Regions from separate parts of the Homo sapiens genome. Here region 1 is linked to region 2. The links are contacts of gene promoters, found by promoter capture Hi-C in blood cells and fetal thymus (Javierre and others, 2016). All regions are on one chromosome and are shown on one strand. The core of a region is centred on a gene start or on the middle of the fragment in contact, and the rest is flanking DNA. Distances in the headings are between cores, read along the strand shown.

The links. The method cuts DNA at HindIII sites, captures the fragments that hold promoters and counts their contacts. A CHiCAGO score of 5 or more calls a contact.
Region 1: a fragment that was not itself captured here is called in contact with the fragment with the promoter of MAP10 in region 2 in 2 of 17 cell types (fetal thymus and non-activated CD4 T cells); the score reaches 8.1 in fetal thymus.

The regions. Positions count from the first base shown.
Region 1 is chr1:232,922,028-232,929,401 of GRCh38, reverse strand. No RefSeq gene overlaps it. Among named protein-coding and RNA genes, the nearest start is that of NTPCR, 25 kb to the left of the region's middle. RefSeq lists enhancers at 5,003-5,062, 4,629-5,828. The HindIII fragment of the contact is 2,181 bases long and covers 744-2,924 here.
Region 2 is chr1:232,801,961-232,809,673 of GRCh38, reverse strand. It overlaps MAP10 (microtubule associated protein 10), which reads right to left and starts at 4,258. Exons shown (of 1, transcript NM_019090.3): 1 at 1-4,258. The coding sequence starts at 4,224. The coding sequence ends at 1,507. RefSeq lists enhancers at 3,269-3,865, 4,075-4,154, 3,866-4,463. The HindIII fragment of the contact is 4,755 bases long and covers 1,067-5,821 here.

The sequences.
Region 1 (7,374 bases), core at 585-3,084, 120 kb before region 2:
AAATGAAGGGCAGACAGCATGGACCTGTTAAACTGACATAAGTTGGTCAGGCGCAGAAGCTGACACCTGTAGTCTCAGCACTTTGGGAGGCTAAGGTGGGTGGATCACTTGAGGTCAGGGGTTCGAGACCAGCCTGGCCAACATGGTGAAACCCTGTCTCTACTAAAAATACAAAAATTAGCCAGGCACGTGGAGTGCACCTGTAATCTCAGCTACTCAGGAAGCTGAGGCACAAGAATCGCTTGAACCTGGGAGGCGGAGGTTACAGTGAATCAAGATTGCACCACTGCACTCCAGCCTGGGCAACAGAGCGACATTCTGTCTCAATAATAATAATAATAATAATAATAATCTGACATAAGTCACTGAAAAGGGTGGCTTTTTAAGTAAAAAAATATATTTTCTTCCTTCTTTTTACGTGTAACTCAGATATCTGGATTCCCAGGGACTTTTATTAGATATTATATGTTTAATTAAATCACATATAACATGAAATTACAAATGCAATAAAATTTACAATAATTTCCGGACACCACACTTTCAGCTTACTCCCTCTTCACATGGGACAGATTCTGTCCATTTTTATTTGGCCACCTGTTTCTGATGATCCACACCAGAAGCCAATGCTCTGCACTTCCACATTAACACCAGTGAATGTTTGGGAGGTGCATGGTGAATGCTGTTGGGATGAAGAAGTGCTGGGTATTGAGGGACACTTGGTACAGCGTCTTCCTTGTCAAGCTTGATTCCATTTGCCTAACTACACAATTATAGCACTGCTAGATGACAGAAAAGCTGTGTGCTTTTAGAAGACTCCTGTACCACCATGTTTCTCAAACTGTATACCTGTATCTTTAAGGGAACACACAGGAAAGAACAGCTAACAAATCAAGCACTTATCATATGCCAGGTTCTGCTCAATACACTACAACATGTATTAACTCACATGTCCTCATGTGAGGAGGTGGATCCTGTTATTACCTCTTTGTACACTCAAGGGGAAAGACCACTGTCTATCTGCCTCTGGTTTCAAGTGATGCTGGGCTCTCCCTTCTGCATTTCTACATAGCAAAGGGAGCTCTTGGTTTTGACACACTGCCTAGTCTGGCTGTATTACTAGGACTCAGGATAAGAGCTATTTGTAGTGGCACTCTAAAACCTTGACCTTCAATGTCCCGCAGTAAATTCCTGATTAAGTTTCAAGCAAAGAGTTTGGTTTAAAAAAATCATTCAAAGAATTTATGCTGTGCATTAGCTTAGTTCAGCTTGGACGGTACATTAATTTTGCCCTTATCACATTTCCCCTCTCCTGTCACAAACTTTGCTGATTGTTCACCTTCTACTCTTGGTTCCTGTACGAACTCCATGAGCCTTGGCACCTCCATGTATCTCAAGTTTCCTCACCTGTAAAATGAGAAAACCTTTGCTCCTCTGTGAGTCAGCTAACACTTCACTGGGATGCAGTCATTTCTTTAAAATGCTGAGAGAGATTAATGTGCCCAGTGAGTGTTAAATGGCAAGTCACTCTGAGCTTGTTGCAATGCGGCACTTCTAACTCTCTGTTAGTGCCCTGGTCCCCTCATGAGAGCCAAAACTCTTGACATTCTTATACGGCCTTCAGCAACTGACCCCTGCTCTTCTCCATGGCCTCATTTTTGGCTCCATCCTCTGAAACAGCATTTGGGCTTTTACAACAGGACCACCATGCCTCCAGGTGTTTCCTATGCAAGCCTGGGTAGTCGGAATGCCCTCTGCTCCGTCCAACTTTGCCTGACCACCTCCTGCTCTGCTCACTCAGGTTCAGCTTTGACATCACCTCCTGGGATACTGATATGGTTTGGCTGTGTCCCCACCCAAATCTCATCTTGAATTCCCATGTGTTGAGGGAGGGACCTAGTGGGAGGTAATTGAATCATGAGGGCAAGTCTTTCCCCTGCTGTTCTCATGAGAGTAAATAAGTCTCATGAGATCCGATGGTTTTAAAAAGAGGAGTTCCCCTGCACACGCTCTCTCTCTCTGCCTGCTGCCATCCATGTAAGGCGTGACTTGCTCCTCCTTGCCTTCCACCACGATTGTGAGGCTTCCCTAGCCACGTGGAACTGTTAAGTCCAATTAAACCACTTTCTTTTGTAAATTGCCCTGTCTCTGGTATGTCTTTATCAGCAGCATGAAAACAGACTAATACGGATACCTTCTTTACACCCCAAGTCAGGAACCAGAGCCCCCTGCTGTGTCCTCCCTTTATCACTGCACATCACAGACAGTATCATCATAACCTCTTTGCTTACCTCTATCCCTTCACTTCACTATGTTCCAATGTTTTTATTATGGAATCTACTGTGCCTAGTACAGTGCTTGACACATAGCTAGTGCTCAATAAAAAAAAATAATAAATGAGTGAATGGAAGTTTGGGAAAGGGTAGATTCTTGCTGGTTCTTCCAAGACAGAAAAAGGCAAGAGCTCCACAAATGTCCATTTTTGTGAACCTGGATAATTATTTGGAAGGGAAAGAGGAGGATCAGGCCTGGAGCCAAGAGAACCTGAATCATAACCTTGATGGGATTTAAACCTGAGAATCATGTGGATTTTTTTCTGAGTGACAAGGGAGAGTGAGTGGAGATCCATTGTCTAGGTGTTGCTGTGGGTGGCAAATTATTAGTTAGAAAATCCATGCAGTCACGTATGTGAATGTGAAAAATTGTGAGCCTTGCTGCCACCTAAGAATAAGACCATCCCATCATTAATCATGTGCTTTCATTTGCACTGGATCCCATCACAAAGGAATTAATGTCTGTGGCAGTCAGGTGGCTCTTAACTCCTTACGAAGAGTAATAAGGCTTTACTTTTTCATAAACATGGATGTGACACAGAAACTAATACCATCCAGTAAAGTCCAAACCAACTGCTTCCCACTAGAGAAGCTTCTCCTCTCCAGGAAAGCTTTACCCGGCCAGACCAGACTCTTTCTCCCTGGACCCATGGCAAATACAGACTGTTCATTTAGTGAATCACTCTCCCTCTTCTGTTCTCTTCTTGAAATATTTTTTCAACCTTCACGCTTTAATTTCTAACATGTTTATGTTCTGTCTAGCTCCTAGGTGGTAAGAGAGTGGATTTAAAATTGTAATCCCCCCAGGAGAGCAAACATTGCCCAGTCTTTTGCTTCTTGACCAAGGGAGGTGCTTGATAAAATATTTATTGATCTCACCATTGATTCCTCTCTCAGTCTCAGCACACATGGGTCACAATGGACAGTCATTTTTCATCTCACATTTGGCTTTCTAATAGTCCTTTCTTAAAGTGATTCCATTTGCTCATGTGAAGTGCAGAGACCTGGTCAGGCATGAAGAATACAGCTTTTCCTACTGCCTTTCCAGGCTCTGGCCATGGGCCCTGCCTGAGTGGCCCTCTGTCATCATGCTCTGCCAGCTCACTTCAAAGCAGTCTGGCCTTTTAAACAAAAGGCACAATAGGGCTAACAGAACAACCCTGCAATGTAGTTGAACATAAATGCATACGAAAATGAGACACAGCTTCTCTCACTCACCATGGCATAGTGCTTTGGGGCCTCTGGTGAACTTGAAGAAAACCCCAAGCCCCTTTCTTAGAGCTTTGATGTGCCACTGTAACAAATGCACAGCAGGACATTGCACCCTAGTTCGCATTTAAGCCTTCCTGTTTAATTTGAGCAAAACTCTCCTTACAGGAGAATTAAACAATAACCACATCACAGGGAGATCTTAAAGTATTAGCAAACATCTGCTGCAAGCGTCGTGACAAGCACATGGCCCTAATGGCCCGCAGCCCCCCTGAAGAAGAGCAGATGTCTGTATAAAGGATGAATTTTGTTTATAAGGTGTTTTTGGTATGAACTTTTTCTTTGGCTCTTGTTAAATGGAGAACTTAGCAACCTATTGAAAAGGCATTTTGTCTCCACCCTGTAGAGCCAAATTGCTTCCTTGCTCTTCTGACTTCCTGACTGCTGAAGGAAGTCTTGGTCTATCTCAGGCAGTTAGTAAAGCATTGTCAGAATGGCCAATGGTGCATTAACCAGACCTGTTATTCCTAGTGGTCAGTGCAGTCTTTAAACACAAAGCTGGGTGTTCAGAGACCTGAACGCTAGTCCTCCATTGCCATGGTTAGCTGTGTGGTCCCAGGTAAGTCACTACCCTGACTGCATGGGATTTTGCATCTGTAGAATCAGCAGTGGTCTCTTCCAGATGTATCATCTGGCACTTCTCTCTCATGCATTTCTCTGGGCTAGTAAATTCTTAGCAAATTTCAACCTCGCTGACACCCCAGTGAGATGGCCTCTATTCATTGGGTGGTAATGGAGGGCTCTAAGAATTATCTGGGGAATACTGTCAATGCATTATAAATCACCAGAGAGGCTGCATCAGGCTCGAAAGTGGATCTCTGCTAGCTCTGAAAAGTCCATTTTTATTTTCTGGCTTAGAGACATTCACAAGATATTTTTCAAATATACATTTCCCTTGAGCGGTGTGGTCTCTGGGATGTTCAGGTACAACAGAATCAGATGTCACAGAAATGTTAGGTCATTCCAATTCGCTGCAGTTCATCTTTGCAATTGTTAGAGGGCATGGCCCAGAAATACAGAAATGAATGAAGCGAAGAATTTTCAGTCTCATCCTGTCTATCTTTGCTCATGCAGACGCAGTCAGGCGGATGACTCTGTGACCTCTCACCCTGGATACTCTTGATATCCACATCAGTGGGGTAAAGGCATCTTCAAATTCTATTGTCTTGAACCAAGGATGAAAATGTTTCAAATCTTCACCCCTTCCTGATTCCCGAGGGGTCTTTTAATGGCCTAAGCAATGCCGTTAAACAAATAGTCCCCATCAACACGGAAGATGGTGATTTGTGGTCATTTTTCAGTTCGTTACAACAAATGCCAAGGCCCACTCCTTGCATTGACAGACACCCAGGAAGAGTCTTCAGGGCCTATAGATGAGATCAAGGTGAAAATTACTTTGAGATCAAAGTCTTCTCTGCTGCAGTGCACTGGAGGGCTTCTGAGTCCAGCCAGGCAGTGAAGGAAGACTTCCCCACCCAGCACCTGGCTCCTCCTGCCTTTCTGAACAGGGTTTTGATTTGTTGAACAGCTTAGGAAGTAAGTGTGGCTTTGCTTAAGACCGCCAGCTTCCATAGACTGAAACGGTAGATGTAACTTACCCCAAAAGACAAAGAAAAAGAAAGCAAGATAGCACACCCTTGGGTTGGTTTCTGGCAAGCTCTAACCACATCAATGCATAAAACTGTATCTGTGCCTGACTGAGCAAAGTGACAACAGTGTCACAGAATCTGATCTTGAGATTAGCAGCTGCCCCTCTTTTGGAAGAGCTGTCCTTCACCTTTACTGCAAGTTCATGATAAAGTGCCATCTTCCCTCCCTTTACAGCCACAGCAGGGATGTGAGCTACCAACTCAGCTGCACCTAGTATCCCTTGGATTGAGAGGAGCGCTGACATGTCCTTACTCACCCTTGCTCCAGGCCCACAGCCCACTTTCAGAGGATGATTAAAGCAGAGTGAGAATGAGTCAGGTTCTCTCCAGAAACCAAGGGTCTGAAGTAGCAATTGACTGAATGGGACCGGAAGAGTGATCTGGAAGAGTTAATGAGTATTCAACATTGCTGGGCTCTACTTCCTGGTTCAGCCTTCCAGGAGGGGAGAATGAATCTGACCCAAGATTTGTCGAGTTCTTAAACATGGCATTATTCGAAATAAAATTTCCCCCTTCATCCTCTTATTGCCAAGGAAGACACTGATTTTTCAAGAAAGAAAAGCTAATATGCTTGCATAGAGTGCAAATAGAATGTGTGACCAATCATTGGACTGACAGAATTTGCCATCATTGTGACAAAAGATTAATTCATTTGGTCAATTAGGCCTGTAACAAATCAAGACAAGAAATTTTTGAAAATCAAACTTTTCACTTTACTGAGTGATATGGTTTGGCTGTGTCCCAACCCAAATCTCAACTGGAATTGTATCTCCCAGAATTCCCATGTGTTGTGAAGGGGGACCCGGGGGAGATAATTGAATCTTGGGGGCCAGTCTTTCCCATGCTATTCTCATGATAGTGAATAAGTTTCACAAGATCTGATGGGTTTATTAGGGCTTTCTGCTTTTGCTTCTTCCTCATTTTCTCTTGCCACCACTATGTAAGAAGTGCCTTTCACCTCCCACCATGATTCTGAGGCCTCCCCAACCATGTGGAACTATAAGTCCAATTAAACTTCCTTTTCTTCCCAGTCTTGGTATGTCTTTATCAGCAGCATGAAAATTGACTAATACACTGTCATCAGGCACATTTATTCAAAATAATCAAATTACTATTCCTGAATAGACACATATAAGATTCCTTTGAGAATTAGCAAACTCATACCTCAATATTGCCAGTAAAATTCTAAATTCGTGAAGTAAAGGTCCATATTTTTTGCTGCATTTTTAACCGTCACATACCACAGTGTGAGAAGATGTGTGGTACATTATCTTAAAATGCTTCTTACTTCCTGAAAAATTAAGTCAGTAATCTAAAGATTTTACCACAATATTTTACACACAGAAAGAAACCCTAAAACTGTGTCTGGATTTTATTGCAAGAAAAGTAGGCCAGATGTGGTAGCTCATGCCTGTAATTGCAGCACTTTGGGAGGCTGACTAAGCCAGGAGGATTGCTTGCGACCAGAAGTTTGTGACTAGCTTAGGCAGCATAATGAGACCCTGTCTCGACAAAAATTTCTTTTGAAAAATTAACAAGCCATGGTAGTGCACACATAGGTACTCCCAGCTACTCAGGGGGCTGAAGCAGGAGGTTGAGGCTCCAGTGAAATATGTTGGTGCCACTGCACTCTAGCCTGTGTGACAGAGCAAGACCCTGTCTCTATAAAAAGAGAGAGAGGTAAGTGGCAAATAATTTTCGATTTTTACCACACCACCCCTCTTTTCCTTCAACTCTGTGAATACATAATGATTCTCCCTTGCTAGTTTCTTATGCCTTTGAAAAACAGTATTATTTTATAACGTAATCGAAACTGCCATGGACTGAATTTTATCCCCCCAAAATATTGAAACCTTCACCCTAATGTGACTGTAGTTTGAGATAGGGCCTTTAGGAGGTAATTAAAGTTAAATGAGGTCATAAGGGTAGGTCCCTAATCACACAAGGTTGGTGGCCTTATAAGAGGAAGAGAAAGAGCTCTCTCTCCAAGTACACTCAAAGAAAAGACCGTCTAAGGACACCATGAGAAGGTGGCAATCTAGAAGCCAGGAAGAGAGCCCTCACCAGAAACCAAACAGTGCTGGATTTTGATCATAGATTTTCAGCCCGCAGAACTATGCAAAATA
Region 2 (7,713 bases), core at 3,009-5,508:
ATTCAAAATGTCATGACTACTTACTAGTGCTCATTTATAACCTAAAATAATCTGTTATTCCTATTGCTTAGAATTCTATTATTATACTTAGCATTTGAGGCTCTCTGTAATCTGGCATTTTCCTTACTCAACAAATGTCCTTTCTACCACTCTGTAGCATGAGTGGATCATTCTATTCAAGATAATATTTTAAATTGTCCCATAAATATATCAGGCTCATTCCCATCACTCTTTTATTCATATTGCTCCCCAAAATGTAACATCCTCTTCTCTCTTTTTACCATCTATCTATATTCTAGTATTATGATCATTCAGAATACCTATATAATTAATTACCTTTAAAGAAAGGAAATTAGAACCTCACTTCATACATTCAAAAACGTTAGATATATTAAAAAGTCTAAAAATTAAAGTATAACACAGCTAGAAGAAAATATATGTAAATATTTGAACACAGAATAAAGTCTAAATATAAAACCAATGGAATAAATTATAAATTATCACTGGATTTCATAAAAACAAAGTTCCATACACTAAAAATAACCATTGAACAAACTGAAATGACAAGAAACTGAACTCCTATATCAGAAACTGTATAAAAGATACCTTCTTAAGTTTCCCTTTCCAAATATTTCAGAGAACACCTGAAGGCTATTTATACCAAGCAAAACAGAAATATTACAGTCAAATATATTTCCAATAAGGATTTTCTGCAGGTTTATTTTAGGGAATCTGCTTATTTTTGCTGCTTAATTCTAAACCCTCCCATTAGGTATTTTAAATGCCTGGGCTTCGTTTTTTTCAACAAATGTTTTTATTGCACTGCAGCCACATGCCAGGAATTGTGCTAGATACAAAAATGCACTGATGTGTAAAACAAATATGATCCCATCACACAACTGAAGCCTAGTGGAAGATAAACTTTAATCAAGTAATCACACAAATTGTGGCTTATAAACAAAAGGTGCAGGGCACTATGAGAGCATATAAAAGCAACTTCACCTATTGGGGATATGGGATATGTATATGTCAAGGAAGACTTCTTATCTACATACAACTGTAAGCTTTTAAAACAGCAGGGCTCTATCATAAATAGATTCTGCACCTTTCTGCATCTAACACAGTAAGTCTTCTATATTTGTTAAATAATTTGTTCCAATTAAAATTTGAGGCTGTCCTTACTAACTAGCCTTCTTTTTCAGTGGTGTGCATGAAGTCAGCTTTAGAATGATCAATACTGTAGACTAGACACTTTAAGAGAGACAATTTAGAAAGACACACTTTTATTCTTATGATTAAACAATTTAAAAAGAAATCTGTTTATATGATTTAATAATCAATATTATCAGATTTAATGGTAAAATACCATTTAAACATCAAAGGAATAACGTTAATTCATATTTCTTTAAAAAATTATTCACATAATTCATGAACTAAAACAGCTTTAAAATTTTTTTCACTAACAGTACACATAGGTCCTTGAAAGTTTTTTAAAAGCATGTATTTTTACATTGTGTATCCTGGAAGTTTATTTATTACTAATTCACAAATATCTTTGCATTGCTTGGAAATATTTAGTGAACCAACATCATCATTGCCTTCTTCAAAGTGATCTGATGTACTGCTATCCAGGACATTAAGTTCGGACACATTTGAAGGCAGGTAAGAACTCACCTGGGATGTTTGTGGTGACTGGCTTTTTTCTAAAGATTTCCAACTACTTCTTGTTTTAACAGAGATGTCTTGAGCTCTCTTTGTAATTTCAGAATTGTGCATACTATTTTGATCTATCTGGTTTTCTTTTTGTTCAGTCCAATGTGTTGAAGATAAATCACTAGCAGAGATACTAGATGCTTCCTCCAAACTTTTATCCTGAGTCTTTGAAATATGAAATTTTCTGTATGAGTGTACAGGTGACCCGGCTGAAAAAGGTGGGCTAAGGATAGAACTCCTGTCACTACTATTTTTCTTTTTGGACACTCCTGTGTCACTAGACTTGCTTGTATATTGACTATGTTTTGGATTTTCTGTCCTTGAACTGCTATCATGAGCTTTGAAACTTCTGCTGGTGTCCTCACTGGTACAGAAATCTTCAGAATAGCAAGGGCTAGACAAATCATCTGAATACTTCAGTTCTGAGATGTTTTCATAGCAACTATTTTTACCTGTTCTCTTGTCACTTATATCAGCCATAAGAATGTCATTATCTGTGGTTTTGACCTGTCTAATATCTATTTCCTTATCTACAATTCTGTCAACAACAGCATCCTGTTGGAAAACACATGGACTTTGGATTTTCATTTCCACATTTCCTCCCAGAATATTTGTAGGGGTAAGCCTTTCTGGAATAATGGAATTTGCAGGACTCACAACTTCTTCCAATGAAACATTATTGATTCTATTTTTACTACAATCAACTGTCTTTTTTTCAGTTGCATATTTCAGTTTAGTTTCTTTACTTGTGCTGGGCTCATCAAAAACTCCACTGATTTGTCTTGAGGTATCACTATTTTCAGTGAAAGATGCATCTGAATCTAAATACTTATCTTCAGGCAGTTGTGGCTTCTGACTTTGTTCTGCAGAGCTTAATAGTTTAACTTTGGATGACGGAATTCTGAATTTTGTACCCAACATTTGTGATTGTCTTTTTCTATATAGTTCTCTTTTTTCATGTACCACCAACATATCAGGATTTGTCAGCTTTAAACGTAGTCTTAGTGTATTTGTTAAGCCATAAAGTAGCCTCCCTTTTGGAACTCTTTTATGGAGGGCACCACTGCTCTTTTCAGAATATTTATCTTCCTTATAGTTTTCAATTTGGTTCTTTTTATACTGAAGACTCACTGACTTTTCACATCCCCCCACAGAACGCTTATCCTTCTTGGCTTCAGACCGGCATGTGGATTTGGCAGAAGATTCGGGTGACTTCTTATCCTCAGTCCTATATAACCAGGCTAGGTGAGGATGTATATGAGCAGGACTTGTCACAGGTTGGTCATATAACAAGGACAACTCAACTAACAAAGCATTTAACAAAGGCAACTGCCTTATTGTATTAATTCGATTTTGTTCAGTTTGACATGTTTGATTAGTTGCTCCTATATTCTGAATATGTGGAGGATTTACAAGCATTGGAGGATGTTCGTGTGCTGCAGAACTTGGATGCTTTAGACAACTCCTGTGTGCTGGGGGATTTACACGCTTTTTTTCAGGAGAAGCATCATCCATTTCCTCAGGTGCATTCATTTGAGGCTCAATGGTGATTTTAGCCTGTGCAGGGGGCGGTTTTTCTTGGGTCAAGTTAGTGTAATACAAAGGAGGAGGGCAAAATATATTGGTCTCCATGTCCAATTCTGTGACTTCCTCATTTAGGGAGCTAACATTTCTCCCATTGCCAGCACCTGAACATGTAACAACAGAATTGGTTTTGCCATTCTCCACAGAACCCACATTATCACATTCGGCCTTACTTTTAACCATTTCCTTCAAATCCTTCTGTGCCTCTGGGATTTCTAACTCCCCCAGCGGCTTATCAGCCTCTTTTGGGCTTGGCTGTGAGGCTGGCTGCTGCAGCTGCTGTCTTTCCTGCTGGGTTTGGGGACTGACCTCCGCTCCTCCTCCTGTGCGGGTGAAGGTGAGGGGCCGCTCAAGTTGGCTCAGCAGGCGGCTTCCCAGGTCAGTCAGGCGGTAGGCCAGTGCAATGTCCCCAGTCCGCTCGCCCACTCGATTATGCAGGGGGAAACGTCCCCGGTGACGGTGGGAGCATCCGGAGGCGGCCGGCCCCACGACCCTGTGCGCTGCGGTGGCCAGCGAAATGTCGCAGGCCCCCAGGAGCTGTGGGGTGGGCGTCGGGCGCCCAGGGGGCAGCTGCAGCAGCAAGGTGGCAAGCGGGGTCCGCAGGAGCCGGCAGTGCAGGGTAGCAGGCTGCAGGCGGAAGAGGCAGGACTTGCCGCGACCGAAGCGGATGACACCGGGCCACGGTTCGGCGGCGGGAGCGCCGGGGCCGTCAGGAGGGTAAACCAACAGCGTGGGGAAGTCCAGCAGGCGGAAGGCCACGGCGGGGCACAGACCGCGCGGCGACGAGGCCTCCCCCTGCTCCTTTTCCTCCTCTTCCTCCTCCTGCTCCACTGCGGCAGCGGGGGACGGCAGCAGCCGGGCTTCCAAACGCACCCAGTCCACCAGCAGCTCCAGCGAGAAGAGCCGCTCGGACAGCGAGGCCGCCATTGCTGTTGCCCCAGGAAACGCCGCCGCGGGCTCCGCAAACGAGAAGCTGAAGCCCCGGGGTCTCACGAGAAACCGGAGCAAAAGGCATCGCTGCCTGCTATCTCGCGAGATTTGCGGAAGCGCTCCAGCGGGTCTCGGGCGGTGTCTGCTTTGGGGGTTTTGCTGCTCAATGTGTTTGGCCCCTTTGTATGCATACTTGTGAGCCGTTTTTTGCCACCAACCTTGTATTAAGACAATTGATGATAATGCTGAGGATATAAGTGGTAAAAGACAGTGAGTTTTTTGGGTAATGGTTTTATCACTGCAGATCTTATGTAACTTGGGGGTCAGATCAATATACCTGAGGAATATTGAAAGAAAATCAGGACTCTCCTTCCTTTCCCATGCTAAACAGAGCCAGTTAGTTAACTGTCCACAGTGGGCCATCTCTGTGTCTGCTGTTCTACCCAAAAGATGGTGACACTGCTGGGATGGCCAGGGAGCCCCTGCCTCATCAATTACAGTAGTACTGAGACAGACACACCACACACACACGGAGTGTGAATACACTGGCAAAAACTCTCCTTGGCTGAACTTTGGTCAGGCTCATCTAAGCCTTCTTTCCGACTAGGCCTTGACCTTGGCTTCCAATCCTGTGGACCCTGGATCACCGAGTTGTAGCAAAGGTCTCGCTACGGCTGTTGAGAGAGAACCCCCAACCCTTCATACCTGATTACCGTCGATACCTGATCAAATTCTTCATTTTCTATCATTGGTATCTGACCACCCTGGCCTGGCTTCAGCAAGAATCCTATTAGGCCTGCTTAATCAGAACCCTCCCACCCGTGATGTTCCCTATCAGTAAGTTTCCATCCACTTGACCTGACGCCCCCTTGGCTTTAAATCCCCACTTGTCCATGCTGTAATTGGAATTGAGCCCAGCTCTGTATTGAGGTCTCTTTTCTCTTATTGCAGTAGTTCCTGACTACAGTGTTTTTGCCACTTCAACTACTGTCTGGCCCTGTTTTTTATTTGACAACATTTCCAGCTAAGCAATCATGATGCATGAGAGTAATGTTAATGATTCCATCAATAAAACAAATGTGTGTACATAAATATACACACATCTACAGAGACACACAGAACTTGCTGCTCTATCCAGATATTTTAAGAAACATACTCCTAACCTCAATGAGCTAGCCAGCTAGGAATCCAAGGCCAGTTTTTGGAGAGCCTTGAATGCCATGGTAAAGAATTTGGACTATATTCTGTCCAAATTTTTTTGATTGAATAAGTACATCATAGCAATATTTGGAAATGTATCATGGGGAGGAATACAAAGGATGGATTCTACTAATTAGAAATTGGATTCAGAGCAATCTATTAGAAGACTACTGCAGTGGTCTAAGAGGCAGATAATTATGACCTGCACATGGTCAGGACTAGTGGAAATTAAAAAGAGGTGGCAGAAGAGGCATTTGTGATGGAGGAATTTTAAAATTTGGTGAATGGGAAAGAAAAGTCATGGGTGAAAAACTTCTGCTACTGAAGGTGAAAATATTGAGGAGGCACAGATTTGACGGAAAAAAATACTTTGAGTTTTGAGATATGTAAAGCTTGAGGTACCTGCTGCTGGGCATTATATATGTACCGCTTTATTCAGCTTTATAAATTATAGTTAAATTATATTGCTTCAGTGCTCAGAAGAACATTGTGAAGCTCAAGAGAAATTCAGAACTGGAGGGATATGATGCTTTAGTGTGAAGACGTGAGAGAGAAGTCTCATTGCAATATATAAATACAAGATACTTCTCGGACCAGATGCGGTGGCTCACGCCTGTAATCCCAGCACTTTGGGAGGCCGAGGCAGGCAGAACACGAGGTCAAGAGATCGAGGCCATCCTGGCCAACATGATGAAACCCCGTCTCTACTAAAAATACAAAAATCAGCTGGGTGTGGTGGTGCATGCCTGTAATCCCAGGTACTTGGGAGGCTGAGGCAGGAGAATCGCTTGAACCAGGGAGTTGGAGGTTGCAGTGAGTGAGCCGAGATCGCACCACTGCACTCCAGCCTGGTGACAAAGCGAGACTCCATCTAAAAAAAAAAAAAAAAATTACAAGATACTTCTCTTGGCTTTGAGAATCTTGCTATATACTTGCAGAGGACACATATCAAGCAACATCCTCAATGGATAGATGATGTAGAGCAATAAAAAAAAGACATCATCACAAGTGAAAAGCAATGAGGTATTGAGTCCATGTGCGCCAGAGAAATACAGTAGACAAAATTCCTCTTAGAAGATATCCTGTAGTTAGCCTTTTGAGTAAAGTTAATAGTGTGCACTAGTAGCACTTGTATGTCTCTTACATATGAATAGAAAAAGCGAAGTCCCTCTTCTATAAAGACATTATTTCTGCAATATGTAGTTTCTGCAATGATAATAACTTCTCTACCCAGCTACTCTACATGACTGGTATTATAATGTATGAATAATATTTTATACTTGTAAATAATGCCAAAAGTAACAAATAAAATTTTGCCATGACAAATATTTTCCCCATGTTTCTACACCACACATGGAGAAGTAGCACAGTGCAGTAGCTGAGCGCCTGGGTTCTGGAAGCAAACTACCTGGCTCAAATCCTGGTTCTGTGACCTTATACTAGTTTCTGAACTCTCTGTGAATCATTATCCTCATTTGAAAAATATAGTTACACTAACTACCTCATAAAAATATTATGTGTGTTAAGTGAATTAATACTTACAAAACTCTTAGAACAGTGCCTAGCATATAGTAAATATTTGTTAAAATAAATATTGTTTTATTTATTATTTGCCACATGGCACACTTTTTAGCTGAGTGTTTAAAACACTGCTATTGTAGTTAGCAAAAAAATAATTTATCCAACGTGGGCCCATTATTTTCAATCTGTAAAAGGTTTTATGCTCTGTATTTTATTTTTCATGCAGGAGCTAGCTGTTTTTTTCACAGGTCAAGGTCAGGCTAGGCAAGAGACTGGATTATTGAACTATAAAAAGCTACTGTCATTAGAGAAAGAAGTAGGGAAGGACACAAGTGAAAAGTATGAGTTTCAGTGTGTGATATGCTGAGTTTGATACATGATATACATCCAGGTAGATAGATCTAAGTTAGATATATGGATATGAAACTTACAAGAGAGATCTGGGCTGAAAGGATACATCAAAAGTTGGATGTCAACCTAATTTCTTCATATAAGACCTGAATTAGTATAGTAATGAGACACTATTTTCTTCTTTTATGTAAATTACTTTGAAACAGTGCATGTTGCAAGAATTTTGGGTTGATCTCTGATGATCAGATATGATGTTAACTACTTTTTCTAGGGGAAATAACTTTGGGGTGAAAAGGGGCAAAGGAAGTCATCATCATTAACTAAAGGTAGTACAGCTTCAAGACATGATGGGACTAATAATTTGGGCTGGAAGCAGAAACCAAATTAGTAAAATTCACTGAGCTGTGTGAGTCT